Linked DNA regions of Homo sapiens: region 2 is linked to region 1. The links are contacts of gene promoters, found by promoter capture Hi-C in human tissues and cell types (Jung and others, 2019). All regions are on one chromosome and are shown on one strand. The core of a region is centred on a gene start or on the middle of the fragment in contact, and the rest is flanking DNA. Distances in the headings are between cores, read along the strand shown.

Region 1 (3,548 bases), core at 324-2,823:
TTTCTGCAGGTAGAGCCACCTAGTATGTATATGGCCACAAAGGGAATTTTGAAGGGATAAATAGAGATTAAAAAAAAAAAAAAGGCTAGATGGCTTTTTGTGTTGTATTTTCCAAGTCGTTAACTGCAAACGCTAGTTTTAAAGAGAACTGGACACTCAATCAAAATACTCCTGTCTCACTCCAGCACATACAAATGGTGTAGTTGAATGGTATATTGGAAATTATATCTATTGCAATTAAAATTGTGTGAGCAATTTGAAAGAAAAGAAAAAAAGAAACATCCCTTTCATCTTTCAGAGTGTATTTCCTTATGTGTCAAACTGGAATATTTCTATCTGTGGCCAGTTCCCCGGGATGCTGCTAGAAACACGTGAGACAGCGCGTTCATTTGCTCTACAAAAAGCGAATGAAGGCGCAGTTACCAGGCCAGTCAACCCAGGCTGTTTAAGGTCAACTACTGGGGGACTTCCACGTCACCTCGATATATACGTAACGCGTGTGTGCCGTAACCCGTGAACTATGGAATCCCTAACCGCGAATCACGTGGCTGCTGCCCCGCGGACGCCCTAGACGACGTGAGGGAAGGCGGTGCCGGGCGGGGCCTGTGCCAGGCTGGCGGGCCGCCGCAGACAGAGCTACCCGGAGCAACCGTTCAGGGGTGAGGCCGGAAGTCCCATCCGACCTCGCGGGCAGCCAGCGCTAGGCCGATTCGAACTCGACCTTGTTTTGGCGTTGCTAGGAGACGCGGCTCCTGCGCGCCCCCTACAGGCCGGCGCCCGGGCGGCGCGCGGGCAGGGGGCGGGGACTGTCGCGTGGAGCTGCCGGGCGAGCACCGTTAGGGCAGCCTGGCGCGCGGCGCCCGCCAGGCGCCCAGTCCTCTGCCATCGCCCACGCCTCCCTGGTGCCAGGGAACAGGTATCAGCGCGCCTCCCCAGCGGCTGGGAGAGACGCTGAATGAAGAAGAGGGAAGGACGGTTAGTCAGGTGAGCCGCGGCGGGGTGGGCGGCCGGGGCGGCCACGCCCTGCCGAGGGAGAAGAGCCGGTCGTGTGCGGAGGGACAGGGTGAAGGGATCCCACTTCGGGGAGGATGGGCTTATCCCGGCGGGCGCGCCAGGTGGGATCTCTAGCGCCTCAGGGGCCCGCGCGGCAACAGCCGGCACCCTCGGGCCCGCGGACAAAGGGTTAACGCGTTGGCAGTGACTGCGGGCCCCGGATGTGAGAGCCTTGGCTTGACGCCCTGGCTGCGCTGCAGGTGCGCCGGGCCGAACGGAGCCGGCAGCCTGGCGGCGACCTGACCGCCCGAGGCTCCCCTTCACCTGCAGCGGCTGCTCGGCTCCCTCTGGGAACGCCGCCTTTTCTAACTTAAGGGCAACAGGTGGTGCCGGTGGACCGAGAGAGAGCTCAGCTCCGCCGCGCTGGGAGCGGCAGTTACCCTCACCAATTAGGGAGCGGGGGCGGGAGTTGCATGGCTTCCCTGATGCGGGTGACCAATGGGATTTGGGATCATGAGTGGACCGGGAGGAGTGGGCGTGGTCGGAGTCTGAGTCCAAGGTTTCTCGTGCGGCAACTGCCAGAGCTGCTTGGAGAGCTAAGCTGGAAGGGTGCTTATCCCTGCGTAGAAACGCCTGCCAATGCTTTCTCATTTGGACCCAGACTCCAGATCGGGAGGTGAGAACGTTGTTATTTTGCAAGGGGTAGGAGGTAATAGTGATCTTGGGTATGCTGTTAAGCATGTGGAATTAGATTCCGAAGATAGGACTATCTGCTATGAGTTTTCTGCCAGATAGGCACTTTGTGGTTACGGCCACTTAGACCAGATACTGGTGACTGGGTTCTTTCCAGAATGAGGTCTTTGAGGTTTGGGGACCCAGGAGAAAAACGTACATATTACTGCAATTTAAGTAAACCAGATAATTTCAATCACTGTTATTCCATCGTTTGTCTTGGACTGTGTGTGTTTTCATGTACGTTTCATATCTCGTCTGGTTTGTTTAGCGCAGCAAGTTATAGTAAGTTCTTCGTGTTGTTTATTTTAGCAAAGTAGAGCAAACCTGTTTTAATGTATTATTTCGGGAGAATAACTTATTCCTTCTTCCGTCTCCCAGCAGTCTTATAGCTGGATCAGCTACCAAGAGAAGTTGTAAACCAAGAAGAGAAAAGCATTTCAATTTGGGACATTTATTTGCACCTGGAAATGGGGAATGGGCTGTCAGACCAGACTTCTATCCTGTCCAACCTGCCTTCATTTCAGTCTTTCCACATTGTTATTCTGGGTTTGGACTGTGCTGGAAAGACAACTGTCTTATACAGGCTGCAGTTCAATGAATTTGTAAATACCGTACCTACCAAAGGATTTAACACTGAGAAAATTAAGGTAACCTTGGGAAATTCTAAAACAGTCACTTTTCACTTCTGGGATGTAGGTGGTCAGGAGAAATTAAGGCCACTGTGGAAGTCATATACCAGATGCACAGATGGCATTGTATTTGTTGTGGACTCTGTTGATGTCGAAAGGATGGAAGAAGCCAAAACTGAACTTCACAAAATAACTAGGATATCAGAAAATCAGGGAGTCCCTGTACTTATAGTTGCTAACAAACAAGATTTGAGGAACTCATTGTCACTTTCAGAAATTGAGAAATTGTTAGCAATGGGTGAACTGAGCTCATCAACTCCTTGGCATTTGCAGCCTACCTGTGCAATCATAGGAGATGGCCTAAAGGAAGGACTTGAGAAACTACATGATATGATCATTAAAAGAAGAAAAATGTTGCGGCAACAGAAAAAGAAAAGATGAATATCAATACCTATTATATCTGTGTGGAGTAGGTTTTCTCTGGTCTGATTTTGACAAATAGAAGAGTGTCTACAGCGTGGTTTGCCTGTCTGCCCTCCTGGATGCTATTAAAGCTTTGTTTTGTTGAACAATCAGATGCCCAACTCTGTTGCCTTGTGGAAGATGAGTAAATGCAGTGCTTCTTAAAGTGGTCTCTTCTCCCTACCCCACAAATCTTTTGGTACTACCATTTGGGGAAGCCAAGCAAGGATAGTAAATTGACCAGAACACAGTTGTGGGAATTTGGTCTGAAGTTAGTGAAATAAAACTTTAAAGAGTGTCTGCCTAGTGTTTTGTGCTTACATCTTTCGGGGGGAAGCCTTTGCAAGAAAATTGCATACAAGGCTTTGTAACGATCAAGTGCTAATCGATGGAAATGTTAAGGTAGATTAACATATATGCAGTTATATTGATCACATTGGTCCAACCAGTCCTTTTTTGAAGTAAGGGACAAGGAGTAAGTATTTTCTTTTTTAAGTTTCTGCCAAATGATTTTTGACGCTTTCTGGAATCAAGTAATTTAATAGTATAGCTTAATTCTAGACAATGTTTAAGTTGGTCTACCTTTATTAAAAATAAGATATTTGGGGTATATTCAAGTGCATGGATTAGTTTTCCTGACAAAGCATGTTTTGGTGTGTAGTCTTACTTTTTAGAAATAGCTATGCATCGTTCTACACAGGTTTAAAACAACTTTTTTGGGGATTTAGG
Region 2 (3,138 bases), core at 300-2,799, 1.0 Mb after region 1:
GAATTTAACAAGAACTTGTAAAATAAAATAGTAAATCTTTATAACAAGTTTGCTTTGTGTTAAGTATGTGACAAACAATTATTTATAACTTTAGCTAAGGCCAAACCTGTACAAGTATAAAATATCAAGTAGCTTTTGTCATAAAGTTTCTATGATTTAGAGAATTTTTAAATTCACATCTTAAGAATTTTACAAAAAATGTTTTGTTTATTTTCAAGCAGTTATTAATACTAGAATTTTTGTTTTTGTATTCAAATCAAGTCCTCCTCTGTAAAAAAATGTACCAAAGAAAGTTGGAATACATACATCAAAAAACTATCTTTTTCTTGAAGATTTCTACTTTTTCATTATATAATACATGCTCATTGTCAAGAGTAGAAAGTAAAGAAGTGTTTAAGAAAAAAAACTTCAATTATTTATTCTACTACCATTTTTAAAATATTTTCCCATCCTTTTGAAACATATTTGAATAGTATACCTTCTGAAATAAAGCATATGTACACATTATTAAATGCAAACATTTGCATCCATACTATACTTATCATTTTATAGCTTGTGTTTATATTTATAACATTTTTCATATTTAATAGCCTTTAATTATATATCTAAATATTAAAAATAAGCTATATAACACCTCTTGTTCATTAAATGCTTATGATATGCACTTAATGAACAATGTTAAAGACATATATATATATATATATATATACACACACACATATTTTGTTCTTACTCATCTAAACGATCTTTTATACTTCAGGGATCTAAAGCTTTGAATTGACTTGCTGAAGGTCAAAGTCAAAAGATGATGAAGTTGGAGTTCAAACCTATGCTTATCTTCAGAGTCTACATTCTAAAGCCATCTTTACATTACCTCCATTTTTAAAACTTGCCTCTATAATTTTCCACCATACAAATTTTAAAACTTAACTGATTTCCATTTTTCAATGTTTAGCTTATCTCCTTATTTCTTTTACTTGTCTCACAATGTGTTTAAAAACATTTTATGCACAAATGATTATGTCAATCACCGATATTTTCTAAGAATGCATTTCTATGCCATGCATACATTTGCAGTTATTTATATATAATTGTCTACCAATTTGCACTTCCACAAATGATTTTATGTTTCAGAATTCTGAATGATGCTTTCCCCTTACCTGAAAACTTGTGACTATATAGGTCAGTAGTTTTTAAAATTACTATTAGTTTTAAAATTAGACAAAACTATACAATAAGTAACTTCGAAACATTATAATGTCAAAGTCATGGGTTTATACTCATAAATCAACAGGAAAGATTTAACTACCACACAGGAGTATGCCATTTTCTATGGAAAATTTAATTCTGGCTCTTTGGTATGAGTGCATTAGCACATTCTTCAATTAAGCATGAACACAGAACTTCTAACATTACGATCCATGAGTTATAGCAGGCTTCTCCTACAGGAAAAACTTCTAACCAAACCATACACACAAATACAAACACAAACACATACCACACATGAGGAAATGAATGCCGAAAAGCATCCAAACACACCGCACGTAGCTCCAAGGATCCACGTAGTCATAGAACTAACTAAAAAAATACTGCTATCAATAAACAAAATTTACTACGCTTAAGAAAATTTCAAAGCTTTTTTTCCTGAACAAAGCATACATAGTTTCAGAACTATATAGTTTTCACAGATCACCTATGTTAGACCTTTATTTCCATTATATAGCCAATGTTGTTGTTGGAAATGACATCCCTATTGCTACTGTATTTAAGGTTATCAGCCAGCCTTAAATCTTAATTCTGTAATATGAAACAATTAACAAACTTATAATTTCTCTTTAGAAACTTTAAAACATGGCATTGTTTGCATGCAGAAGGAAAGAAACGTACAGGTGCCTAAGAAAATTTTTGACAAAATATTTTTAAAGTCTAGAAAATTTTTCTCTCCATTGCTTGAGTAGTGGCCTTGTTTTGTTTGGTTTTCTCCAGCCATCATTGAGTGAGAAGGTTCTACCAATATCTTGCTATAAATTTCATTAGAATTTACTTTGAAAGATTCTAAGCATAACGAAGATACTATATTTTACTGTCAGTGACAGAGTATGCATCTATTGTACCTGCTAGTCAGTTCTAATGATGGTAAATGTATTATACTTGGCTCTCTGGGGTGGCAGAGAAGCCTTATTTATAGCTTTTGCTTATATCCATGGTGAAAATATTCCCATGATGACCTTTATACTGCATACAACGTGTGGAAGAGATGTTCATGATTATATCCAACAGGAGACAGCTTCAGCGTCACTGTTGCTAACCAAATTACTGACCAGTTACAAAACCAGCTGGAGGTGTTTAGAGTTTTTAAAGAAAAGCCTAAAATTAACTGTTACATATAGAAAGAATATTAGAGATCAGAGAAATTATATGCTACTTTTCATATAGTTCAAGTCTTACCATAAATTAAAATATTTGAGATTACTCTAGTAGGTAATTTTTTATTCCCTGAAATTAGGTATGGCAGCAGCTTATTTTCTCTCTTACTTTGCCTCTTTTCCTTTCTCATAGGTCCGTTTATTTGTAACTTCAAAAGATCTTTACATTAAAGCACTCTAATTTCCATTTAATCTGTTACTTTCACTTTGATGTTGCTTAGTTGATTAAAGTAATTTGGAATCTCAGTGCTATGGAATGTGATTAGGAATGTCATATTTCTAAAGGTTATTTTGTTAACATTTTGCACATTGAATTTTGATCAAATAGTAGATAAAAATATCATTTATCCATCTTATTCTATGGTAATTGTCATAAAAATATAGCTCTAGTTTAAATTAATAATTGGTCTAGCAATTGGAAAAATAGCAAATCATTTTATTTAATTAGATCTTTTCATGAAAACTGATTTGAAGAAATCTTAAAATATGCTTCATATTTCAGGAAATGATAAGATACTTTAAGCTTTGCCTATTGATTTTCTACTGGAGGATGGTAGACTGGGGAAGGGTAACTTTAATGTGAAACTTCCATATAAAATGTGTTAATGTATTCTCTGAGATCCCACCCATAGAAAATAGACTATTTTAATTCTATGCCCTTTTCTATTTTCTTCTAAACAGGGAATCTGGTGTCACTAGGTTACTGCAGTTT

The links. The method cuts DNA at HindIII sites, captures the fragments that hold promoters and counts their contacts. A contact is called where the count stands out against the background at its distance.
Region 2: a contact is called between a fragment that was not itself captured here and the fragment with the promoter of ARL4A in region 1, in 1 of the 25 tissues and cell types used here (lymphoblastoid cells).

What each region holds. Positions count from the first base shown.
Region 1 is chr7:12,686,060-12,689,607 of GRCh38, forward strand. It overlaps ARL4A (ARF like GTPase 4A), which reads left to right and starts at 1,574. Exons shown (of 2, transcript NM_005738.5): 1 at 1,574-1,669; 2 at 2,107-3,548. The coding sequence starts at 2,196. The coding sequence ends at 2,798. It also overlaps the pseudogene LOC100505995. RefSeq lists silencers at 609-888, 1,089-1,138 and an enhancer at 1,083-1,619. The HindIII fragment of the contact is 5,802 bases long and covers 1-3,366 here.
Region 2 is chr7:13,706,583-13,709,720 of GRCh38, forward strand. No RefSeq gene overlaps it. Among named protein-coding and RNA genes, the nearest start is that of ETV1, 280 kb to the right of the region's middle. The HindIII fragment of the contact is 4,081 bases long and covers 1-3,138 here.